Linked DNA regions of Homo sapiens: all the other regions are linked to region 2. Evidence: promoter capture Hi-C in 16 types of primary human blood cells and fetal thymus (Javierre and others, 2016). All regions are on one chromosome and are shown on one strand. The core of a region is centred on a gene start or on the middle of the fragment in contact, and the rest is flanking DNA. Distances in the headings are between cores, read along the strand shown.

The links. The method cuts DNA at HindIII sites, captures the fragments that hold promoters and counts their contacts. A CHiCAGO score of 5 or more calls a contact.
Region 1: a contact is called between a fragment that was not itself captured here and the fragment with the promoter of EOMES in region 2, in 6 of 17 cell types (total CD8 T cells, non-activated CD4 T cells, activated CD4 T cells and 3 more). The highest score is 12.9, in total CD8 T cells.
Region 3: a contact is called between a fragment that was not itself captured here and the fragment with the promoter of EOMES in region 2, in 5 of 17 cell types (total CD8 T cells, activated CD4 T cells, naive CD8 T cells and 2 more). The highest score is 10.4, in total CD8 T cells.

Annotation. Positions count from the first base shown.
Region 1 is chr3:27,923,060-27,927,271 of GRCh38, forward strand. No RefSeq gene overlaps it. Among named protein-coding and RNA genes, the nearest start is that of LINC01981, 91 kb to the left of the region's middle. The HindIII fragment of the contact is 1,709 bases long and covers 1,375-3,083 here.
Region 2 is chr3:27,719,817-27,723,673 of GRCh38, forward strand. It overlaps EOMES (eomesodermin), which reads right to left and starts at 2,507. Exons shown (of 6, transcript NM_001278182.2): 1 at 1,598-2,507; 2 at 355-509. The coding sequence starts at 2,478. RefSeq lists a silencer at 1,933-2,142. The HindIII fragment of the contact is 2,734 bases long and covers 755-3,488 here.
Region 3 is chr3:27,960,273-27,964,174 of GRCh38, forward strand. No RefSeq gene overlaps it. Among named protein-coding and RNA genes, the nearest start is that of LINC01967, 66 kb to the right of the region's middle. The HindIII fragment of the contact is 164 bases long and covers 2,181-2,344 here.

The DNA.
Region 1 (4,212 bases), core at 979-3,478, 200 kb after region 2:
AATAGTTGGATAATAGTGGACTCATTTAGAGCCTTAAACTGAAATTCAGTATTGCATAAATCACAAATTAACAAGTGGAATCATGCAATTGATTATTAGCTGGGAGGGCCAAGATGGAGTATGAGAACATGCTGTATAATTTGAGAAAAAATATTAAAAAATATTTTTATATTTGGAAAATCAAACACCCCTTTTCTTACAACAACTTCAAAATAAAATGCAAAAATTTTTCGTATCTGACATGGTATGTCAGAAATATAATTTATTTTCTGCATACACAAAGCTCTGGGTGGCGGTGAAGGGAATGGTGTCATGAGATTTTCAGTTTATCCAAAGGGGTCATGGGTTTAAAAAGGTTGGAAAGCACTGCAGTAGTGAGATGGATTGGTTTCTGAAGAAAAGTGAGAAAATAAAACCATTAAGTCCAACTGTCACTCTTCCAACTGAATATTGAAACCACTTGGGAAAAAAACTTGAGTGAGGTTTACAGTCATAAGCAACTTTGGTATTTTTGAGGTTTGCCTGTGAATTGCCATTTAACTGTACCACATACTTCCTAGATATGTGATTAGTTGCCATATTTTAAAACTTTCAAAAATGTTAAGTTGCTTGCTATACTGGGCTAACTTATTAAAAGGTTTCTGTTCATTTGGATTAGAGGATCTGTGTGTTTTGGTATGGTTTATGGACAGAGGATTCAGAGACTGGGATTTCTGTTCTACTTACACAATAATGTAGTGTATGAACTGGAACAGGTCACTTAGTATGTTATCTTTAAGTCTTTGTATATCATACATTGCATGCAAGGGTGATTTGGCTCAAAATTTGTCACCCATGGACTGCCAGGCTCATTTGACTGACTGATTCAGCCAGCTAGGTAAGTGTCTTCTTCCTCCTTGCCTCTTTATATTGTTGACAAATAAGGACGTGTAATCTAAAATGATGTTGTTACTTAGTGTAGCAATGGTAGTAACAGTAGCAGTTTTTCTCCAGAAGAGTAAGAGGTGAAACTGGTTAAAGAGACTAGAATATTAATATTAAAAGCAATGGATCTAGTGACAAGAAAGCTGATTTTGAGTCCTGGTTCTCCCAGCCCCATGGACTTGGTTATGACAGTTTAAGATTTCCGAGCCTTAGTTTCTTTGTTTGTAAAACTGAGATTATAATAGCTATCTGATATAATTGTTTTCAGAACTAGAGGAAATAATGTTTTCAAGGGCTGAGTGCCATGGTTGGCATTTTGCCTGAAGATAATTGCAGCACTGCACCTTTTTAAGTAAAAGGATGATATGATTAGATTAATGTTTTAGAAAGTGTGGAGGATGAGTTGGAGGCACATAAAACTGAAGGGCAAGAGATTTGAAGCAGGTGAAAAGCTTATAATAATACAGCTGAAAAATTATACAATCTAAAATAAAGCAGAAGAAGAGGAAATGGAAAGGATGAGACCTAGTTGAGTGATAAGAAAGTAAGTGTCTTGAAAATAAGGCCCGTGTCTTATTCATCACACAATGCTTGCCATGGAGTAGGTCCTGGGAAAATATTTCTTATTTGATCATGGAATTGACTCAGTTTGATTGAATATCACCAAAAAGGTAATAAGATGAGAAAATTTAAAACTCTGATACTTTTCTTCTCATGTTCTCTATTACTCCTAACTTTATCCCTCCTTTTCTCTATCTCCAATTTGGGAAGCTAGGTGTTTTGCCTTCATTTCTTTGGGTAAAGGTTGCCATAGGAGAAAGTAAACTTTAAGATATGGTGAAGTTTGTAACTTCCATTTTTCAAAAGAGCCTATGGCTATTTAGAAGAAAACATGATGAATCGGAGTCGATATTTCCTTCACGGAAATGAACAAGATTCCCTATGCTGAAGGATGGAGATATTCTCAGAGGACGTGATGAGCCCTGGTGGCTTTCTGAGGTTGTAGGGGTTGGCTGAGAGTTGAGGAAACTGGATCCATTTGGAGATAGGCAATCCCAGGAGACCTATGCCTCTGTCTCCGGGTAGTGCCTGGGGGTGGGGGTAGGGAGGAGGCAAGCTCCAAAGTCCCCATCACCTAGCTGGATGAGGAAGCCTAACTGTGTGTGTGATGTGAACCTCATGGAGTTCCTTGTGTTGTGGCATGGCATTGCAGCAGCAGATGGTCATAGGGCCTGAAAACACAGCAGAATTCTCCACATTTCAGAGCAGGGTCCCAGAGTAAGAATTTTTTCAGGCACAGGTGTGACTCAAAAGAGAATCAGCATCTTAAAGAAGTGTTTTTTTTTTCTTTCTTTTTTTTTTTTTTTAAATTTTGAGACAGAGTCTCCTCACTCTGTCACCCAGGCTGGAGTGCAGTGGCATGATCTCGGCTCACTGTAACCTCCACCTCCTGGGTTCAAACGATTCTCCTGCTTCAGCCTCCCGAGTGGCTGGGATTACAGGCATGCGCCACCATGCCCAGCTACTTTTGTATTTTTAGTAGAGACAGGGTTTCACCATGTTGACCAGGCTGGTCTCGAACTCCTGACCTCAAGTGACCTACTGGCTTTGGCCTCCCAAAGTGCTGGGATTACAGGTGTGCACCACTACGCCCTGCTAATTTTGTATTTTTAGTAGAGATGGGGTTTCACCATGTTGGCCAGGCAGGTCTCGAACTCCTGACCTCAGGTGATCCACCCACCTCAGCCTCCCAAAATACTGGGATTACCGGTGTGAGCCACCGCACCTGGCTCTTAAAGAAGTCTTTGTAATGGGAACAACAGAGTGGAGCAGAAGGGTGCAATACTACCAATAAACACAGAGTGAAGATTTGAAGGGAACCAGGGCATCTGCGTGGATGACAGTGTAGATACCCACTGACAGTCACGTATTGTCTCCCATTTGATCCCTAAAACCTTGACATTATAAGTTCTGTGAACCTATGGCTCCAGAATTTTGATGCAACTCTGAGGGAAACTAAATTTAAATTGACTCATATTAAGTCTCTGCCACTCACTAGCATGGGAACTCACAATATAAATTGAATTCAGTAATAGAAAATATAAAGAAATTAAAATTTCTCATATTGTAAACTGAGGTTCAAACTCCCTATACAAACAAGCTTTTTTTGGAAATATTAATAAAAGTGGAGTAGGTGTTGATTGTAAATTGCTGCATGAACGAACACATTCTATCTTGTACAGAGCAGAGCACACATGAACACTGTTTAAACGTGGCAATCAAATTTGCAAAAGAGTATTAGCAAATTGGAGCCTGATGAGCATGGAAAGAGAATAACAATCATGCAGCAGGAGAAACAGTACAAAGATCTGTGATCCTTAGGTGAGACGATAGCAGTTGTTTAGTGGTATTCAAAGAGAATATTGAAGGGCAAAGGTGGAATGATTGCTAACCTTTATATGGCACTTACTATTTTCCAGACACTGTCCCAATCATTGACATGAGTTAACACTTTTCACAATAGCTCAGAGCATAGATACCTATTATTATCACTATTTACCAGGTGAAGAAATGAAGGAGTAGAGAAATTAAATAATTCACCTAAGCTCATACAGCTGATGAGTGGTAGAGCCAGGATTCAAACTCACTTTTGTTTCAGAGTTCTGAATTAGTGAATCTCAGAACCTGCCAGGTTCTGAATTAGTGTAACAAAGACTTCTTTACAGTTAGAGCTGTTCAGAAAGGGAATGCTGGCTCTGGAAGCAGTGACTTATTTCACTGGGAATGAGTTGGGCAGGTGTCATGGATGGTGCAGAGAGATTTGAGATTTCTGCTGGAGGTGGACATTAGGTGGAATGACTGTGAGTTCTCTGATTTTGAACTTCTAGGAGGTTATTTTTTGTGATATTTCATTTGTTAGTTAAAATTTTTAAAAATTTGGTTTAAAGTAGTTTCTCCCCTTTAGGTGGCATGTGAGATGTACTCAAGAAAAATACTCAGTAAAACTCTACCTTAGGTTATATAGCACTCATTCTCTGTACAAGATTGTTAATTAGAAGTATCCCACTTAAAAAATGGCAGACTTAGTAAGGAAAAATATTTTATTTATGTAGCTACAGATCTAACTGGGATGATTTACTGAAATTATTTTCATTCTTCTTTTATATTCTGATGTGCCTATGGGGTGTGTGTGTGTGTGCGTGCGTGTGTGTGTGTGTGTGTGTGTGTCTTTATCTCTTGGTGATTCTGTTGGCTGAATTTCTTGGGGTTAGTTTTCCCTGCATAGTT
Region 2 (3,857 bases), core at 1,257-3,756:
TTTATGGGTGAACTAAACTTTGGCTGGGCTTTCTCAAGTGAACATTAGAATCCCAGGAGCCCTTCCCACCTGGAGAGCTTATGACTACTGATTTGTTAAACGTAGGGATTGGGGGGTGGGGTGATGTCTTAGTTAAAGGTTCTAAATATCTACATATTGGCAGACAAGAAATCTGACTTAGCAAACTCTCCTCTCCGTCAAACAAGCAACTCAAAGACACTCATACTAACACCTCTAGGCCTCAGAATGGAAGGGGAAAAAAAAAGTGCTACATTTAAATGTGAGTTGTGTGAGTCGAGGGTTACGATTTCTTCCCGCCCGTTCCTCCCCGGCCCGAGCCTCTTCTCTGCTCACCCTGCATGTTATTGTCGGCTTTGCCACAGGTCACCCATTTGCCCCCCTGGAAGCGCCAGTGGTTGGGGTCCGCCAGCACCACCTCTACGAACACATTGTAGTGGGCAGTGGGATTGAGTCCGTTTATGTTGAAGCTCAAGAAAGGAAACATGCGCCTGTGCAAGGGAATAGAATCAGAAAAATCGATTTTAATTGGGATGTCCTAGAACAGGCCCAGGCCCCAGCGGGTTCCCCAGACACCTGGGATAGGGTCGGAACACATTTAAAAGTTTGCAGTGAACAGAATGCTGGTAGATCAAGTGGTCTGAAACTATGTAAAATATTTTTGAGTTGGCAACTCTTGGAACCTTTCCGTCTTTTCAAAAAAAAAAAAAAAAAAAAAAAAAAAAAAAAAAAAAAAAGCTTGCCCCAACATCGGTATATTCCAAATTCGCGCGTGCTTCCGAAGGCTCATATTCTCGGCCCTTTCAGACGCTCTTAAAATTTTTCTCCTAGAATGTTAAAAACTACTAATTTTTAAATGCACCATTTTGAAAAGTACCAGAGAACAATATTAGGTTATTCTTGTTAAAAATATATATTAAAACTTTAGGCTAAAAGTCCCCTTTGAGTGCCCCTCTCTCAGCACCCACCCCTCCCTTTCCCCAGAAGTAGCCAGTGTTAGCAGTTGGATGTATATCAGAACTTTCTCGCGCACCGAACCCGAGCCAGGTCTGGCTCCAGGGCAGATCTAACCACCTACTCCGACCGAGCTTCCGAGGCCGGCGCTCTAGCCTTCATGCCCACCTCCCGGAGACGCCCCGTGGAGACCCTGGCGCCTAAAACTGCGGGAGCCCATCTACTGCGCTCAGGTGGCCAGCTCTTGAGCCTTCCCTATCCGTGGCTCCTTGCCGGCATGCAGGCATGCACAAGCATACCGCCGAGCAGGAGGATCTAACGAATCCAGCTTGTGGACATGCCCTAATTTCCATTTCCGCCTCCTCCAGGTCTGTTCAGGTGAGGATGATGGGAGGGAAAAGCGGTGTACAGCCGTAACATTGGCACCCTGCAAGAGCCGCCGGGGCACTGACACAGAGGGACACCGCATTGGAGATGCGGTGTCTACGGAGATTTATTGCGCGCGGTGAAACACTCTAAGCACCGCGCGGAACAACTGGGTTCAGCTCCCTCATCCCGGACCTTCCCCAGGACCACACGTCACCCTTTATCCCCGAACCCAGGGGCCCCTCCACGCTGCGCTCACCTGCCCTGTTTCGTAATGATCATCTCAGTTTGGTGGCGGTGGAATTTGAGCCACAGAGGCCGGTTGCACAGGTAGACGTGGGCACGGAAGCCAGAACCTGGAACCCCCAGGCCCCCCAGTCCTCCGCAAGATCCCGCCGCTGCGGCTCCAGGGTACGGCCCGTAGAGCGGAGCCCCCTGGCTGTACTGATAGGTGCCCGGGCCGCCGCCCCCGCCGCTGCTACCGCCCGCGCCACTGCCCGCACCGGCTCCTGGGCCGAACTGCGCCCTCCCGGGTGGGCACACAGCCGCGGGGAAGCCGCCGGGGGGCAGCATGGAGCCGTAGGGGTAGCGCGCCCCGTTAGGAGCCGGGTACACAGGTCCGTGGGGCGCCCCAGCCGCCGCCTGGTACGGGAAGAGTGAGCAGGGCGCAGCCAGCTCCGACCCCTGAGGACCGGGGGACTGGAGGTAGTACCGCTCGGAGCTCAGGCTGTCCATGGAGTAGCGCGCAGTGGCCGCAGCCGCGGCGGCGGCGGCGGCGGCGGCTGCAGCGGCGGAGGGCAGCTCCTCCTCCCCGCAGGGGGAGCCCTTGCGGCCGTCCGGGGGCCCCGGCTTGGCCACTGCCGCAGCGCTGGCAAATGCGTCCCCGGCGTCGGTGTCACTAAGCATGGCCGCGGGGGCCCCTGCGCTGGCGGCTGCGGGCTCCCCGCTCACCGCCTCGCAGGAGAGACTGCCGGAAAACTTCTTGGACGCTTTGTCTAAGTCCAACTTCTGAGGAGAGGGGGCCGCGCTGGGGAGGTGGCCAGCGCTCCCGCCGCTGCCGCCTCGCGCACTCTCCAGCGGGTAGAAGTGCGCGCCAGGCAGGTTCACTGAGCTCACCAAGAGCTGCTCCCCTAACTGCATGCTTTGCAAAGCGCAGACGGCAGCTGGCTGCTTCCTCTCCTCCGGTGGCCTTATTATAAAGGCAGGATGGGGGAGCCAGCGCCCTCTTCCGAGGGGAAGGTAACTTCCCCTTCCTCCCGCGCCGGGGCTACCCACCTGCCGACTCGCGGGCCGCTACTGCGCGTACTGGCGCGCCCTGAATCCAGCGTCCTTTCCGGAAGGAAAGCGCCGTGAGTTGGAAAGCAGGAGGTGGAAACTAACCCAGAAGCCCTCTCCTTTTCCTTCCTCGTACCTCTTGCTCCTCAGGACCCCCACCCTCCTCCCAGGCTCACACGCTGGAAGAAGGTGACTTAGATCTTTGTCCCCATCCACCCACTAGCCCGCGCCTTTCTGCCCTTTTTCAATTGCCAAAGCATCGGTCAAGTTGACCACTTGGAAACTTATGGGCTGTCACTAGCTGCTTTATATATTTGCGGCCAGGGAGGGGCTTCCCGGCCTCACAGCCCGGAGACCCTCCTATTGGCTGGTGGAGGTGACACTAATTCAATTAGGCATTTACTAATTGGATCAAGTCGCCTGTGACTTTCTTTTCCTTTTTTTTTTTTTTTTTTTTTTTTTTTTTTTGAGACTGCGTCCCGCTGTGATAATCAATCCTGGTGTCTGTAATTTCGCCGGAATTTAGGGGGACAAAGTTTGGGGTCTCCATAGCGGTGTCCACCCTTGGCGCATTAGTCATCTCAGCCCTCCGCTGGAGGAATGAGATGGCTGGAGCAGATTTTAGAGGCCAGAGAGAGAAAGACTCTTCAAGCTGATAGCTTGCAGGGAAGCGCCCGTCCCGGAGGCTGGGGAAACTGGGGCAAGTTGGAGACAGGCCCAAGGAAGTCTCTTTCCTCGTCGGAAGCTGTAACTTCAAAGCACACCTTCCTCTTGTCGAAGGCAAACTCCCTGGCCTTCAACGCACAGAACCACTTTTTGTTTGTTCCCATCCTTTTACCCAGTGGGAAAGGTTTGTAGAGAGGAAACTCGCGCTAAGCTTTTGGGATTCCGGGGACGGCCAGAGCACATTGCCATCCTGGAGGACCTAAGCTCTCAGCTTCTAAATCAGAAGCTTGGACAGGGTACTGGGGACAGGACAAGAGTGAAACTAAGCGAGCTAACACCAACTTCATACTCACGCCAACACAACTGCTTTCGGGGAGACAGTCACTTTTATTCCCCACAATTTAAAATCCTTTCTGCTCAGTTTTCCTGATCCCGGATTCCGTCCCTTCACCACCATCTTCAGTTAGGCCTGACACCAAGAAACAAAGCTTCCCTAACAGCCCCACAGTTAGGATTCCCTGCGCCTCTGCTCTGCGGCAAATACAGAAGGTAGAATAATTAGTGAAATAATCAGTTTG
Region 3 (3,902 bases), core at 1,013-3,512, 240 kb after region 2:
TAAAACCAGCCTAGGAAAAAAGCCATAATTATACTCAGCTAATGATTATCAGCTGAGGAAAAACATACAACGCATAGAACATGACTCATTTGTGAGAGGCAGTCACCATCATTTTACAACACAGTGACTGGAAAGTGATTAAAGATGCATAATGTGAATGATGCCTAAAATTTCCACCCTTACAGAAGCTGCCGTAAAATGCCATACTCTAGTTAAGCTTATGGAGAGGGAAACTAGCTCTAGAGAAAAGTACTAAGATTATTTGTGCTTTTAGCTCTTTTGTCTCAGAAGGGTGTCCTCTTATACTTCTGTTTTCTCACAAAAAATGCTCACCAAAATTGTAATCTGCTTAGAATGTAGTTGAAATGCCTCACTGGAGGAGCCTGAAGAATTGGGTTTCTTCTTTTTTTAGTAGATTTAATTTTTCAGAGCAGTTTTAGGTTCAGAGCAAAATTGAATGGAAGGTACAGAGATTTTCCCTATACTTCCTCCCCCGCCACATACACAGCCTCCCCAACTATCACCATCCCCAATCAGAGTGATACATTTATTACAATTAATGAACTTACATTGACACATAATTATCAAAGTCCATAGTTCACATTAAGGCTCACTCTTAGTATTGTACATTCTATGGGTTTGCACAAATTTATAATGGCATGTATTCAACATCATAGTATCACAGAGTAGTTTCATTGCCCTACAAATCCTCTGTTCTCTCTGCTTCACATATTCACTCTTTCCTTCCACTTAACCCCTGAATTTTTACAGTCTCCACTGTTTTGCCTCTTCCAGAATGTCATATACAGTAGCTGGAATCTACAGTGTATATGATTGGTTCTGTTTTTAAAGCTGCAATTTATTACCTGTGATTTGTGAAATGTTGTTAACTTACCTAAGCTCCTTGGATGTTGATTTCCTCACCTGTGAAATGGTGACAGAGGACTTGCTCTGTCCTGGGACAGCTGTGAATGTTGGACCATGCAGCAGTGCTTTGGAAATGGCTGCACTCTAATAAAGACCACAGGGAGGAGAATAAACACAAGCTTTTGAAGATGATAAAAGTCACTTCTAAAGACTGAAATTTTGTGGTCTGTTGGAAAAGTTTGGACAGGATAGGGTATACATTTGTTTCCTGGTTTATACAGAAAAACTGGAATATAGAGATTGAGATAACTTACTTAAATGCATACACTGGGTCACTTTTCATGTGTACATTTTCTGTAGACTATTCTAGCAATATCTATATTCATTAAAACAACAAAAGGAAGCCAGTCATTGCATCTTTACTTTTCAAATCACATTTTATTTGGAAGGTGTTGCAGGCTGAATTGTCTCCTCCAAATTTACAAGTTGAAGTCCTAATCTCTAGTACTGCAGAATGTGACTATATTTAGAGATAGTGTCTTTAAAGAGGTGACTAACCTAAAATGAGTCCATTGGGGTGGGCTTTAACTTAATACGACTTCTTTTTCTAAGAAGAGAAGATTGCAACATAGACTTGTCCAAATTACCCAATCTGTGGTACTTTGTTATGATAGTCATAGCAAACTTATATGTAAGGGTCCTCGTTGTTTTTTGTTTTTGTTTTTTCCATCAGTAAAATGTATTGAGCACTTACAATGCATCCAGTGCTGTGTTCAATGTTTTATATGCATTGCTTTATAACTCTTCTGTAAGAGATGTTGTTATTAACACCAATTTTACGTTGTTAGTTTTTAAGGGGCTACCTTTACCAAGCTAAAACTGCACGAACAGGGCAATGATATCACTTCATTTTACAGAATTAGGAAAATCATTCTTTATTGTGAATCAGATTCACACCTCGAAATGGACTTTCTGAGCCCAGGATATGCAGTTTCTGATTAACTGGAGATAAAGAATAGAGAATACATTACTCAGCTGATGGTAATATTTTCTATAATTATATGTCCTGGTTAAGCACACTCATGGACTTGGCATATTTTTGTAAATCATCAGCTGTGTATGCCCCATTAATAAATAAGTGACATGCAGAGAGATGACAGTGATGCGAATTAGAAATAGGCTGTCTACACCCTGGAGACAGGGAAGGAATGGAGGCAGAGGATTTGATAAGTCAAACCATGGTAGTGACAGTAACCACTCCATGGCCAAGCACCACGGAGTCCTTTCACTTGAACCACATTGAACTTCTTGGAAGCTTGTAAACTTGAAATGAGCTTCACATCATAAGCCAGGGAAGAATGTCTGTAACTATGCTCCTGAAATTTAGTGTACATATGAGTTCCCTGGGGTCTTGTTAAGATGCTGATTTTGAATCAGGCAGGCCTGAGGTAAGGTATGAAATTCTACATTTCTAACAAGCTTCAAGGTAATGCCAATGCTACTGGTTTGGGGGCAATTCTTTGAGCAGAACGTGCAGTAGCAGGAGAACAAAGGGCAAAGGAAGGTAGGTAGACTAGAAAGGCATCAAAAGGAATCTTAGAGACCCTCAGCCTCATTTTGAAATTAAGGAAATACAAATTAAAGTCATGGAATAGCATGTCCTGCCTATTTCTTTGGCAAAGCTCTGAAGACTTGATGAGGCGTGGTAGGAAGGAGTATGTGTTTCTCTCATGCATCACTTGTTGAAGTGTTAATAAATACAACTTTGAAGATGGGAATTTGGCTTTATCTGTTAAAATGGAAAAGGCACATACTTTTGAGCCCAGTATTTTTATTTCTGCAAATATGTCCTGTAGATATGCTCATATTTGTGCAAAAACACAGTCTATATTTTCTGTTAAAGAGTTATTTATGTGTGAGTATATTTATACACTAGAACATTTGTAAAATATCTCTGGATAACTATAAAAAAAAGAGATAATAGCACAATCTCTGACAGAGGAGAATGTTCAAGGAACTAAGAGTTTTGGGATAGGAGGTGATTTACTTGTCACTTTTGTATTGGGAATTTTTTTTTTTTTTTTTTTTTTTTTTTTTGAGACGGAGTCTCCTTCTGTTGCTCAGGCTGGAGTGCAATCTCGGCTCACTGAAACCTCTGCCTCCCGGGTTCAAGCCATTCTCCTGGCTCACCCTCCAAGTAGCTGGGATTACAGGTGCGTACCACCATGCCCACCTAATTTTTGTATTTTCAGTAGAGACACGGTTTCATCATGTTGACCAGCCTGGTGTTGAACTCCTGACTTCAGGTGATCTGCCTGCCTCAGCATCCCAAAGTGTTGGGATTACAGGTGTGAGCCACCGTGCCTGGCCAATTTTTTAAAAAGCCATATTCATGAATTAATTTTATGTTTTAGTTAAAAAAGGGAGTGGAGTGAGGTGGGAGAGATAATTTAGAGGGCTCATGAAAGAGAGAATTAGGACCAAGAAGGTGATGCTGCTTTCTTTTCCCTCTGAGGTCACACCAAGGAAGCCACCATCATTGTCTGCTCATAAAAACAACTCCCACCAGTTTCACAGATCCCTCACTGCTGCCTGCACAGGGTTCAGCCTCTTGGGTCACCCAAAAGTCATTTTGTGCTTCTGGGGCACTTTAGATTTCTAGAGAAAGAGAATCATGCAGGCCAGTTTCAGAAAGAGCGGAATTTATTGGACTACAACTGGAACGTCTTCGGGTATCAAATCTATCCTAGAAAGCAGACATGCTGTCTTTCTGAATCTCTTTGTGAGTCAGCCTCTCTCTGTCTGTCTTTCTCTCTTCCTCTCTCTCTCTCTCTCTCAATATATATATATATAGTCATATGACATAGTGTATGTATGTCATATAATGGCATTTTATATACTTATATAGATAGATAAATATATGTCACACACACACACACACACACATACACACACACACATATATAATGTCACCACCTTCTCCACTACCCACTAGCAAGCATTCCCACTCACCCCGGACTGTGTATTTTTTCTTT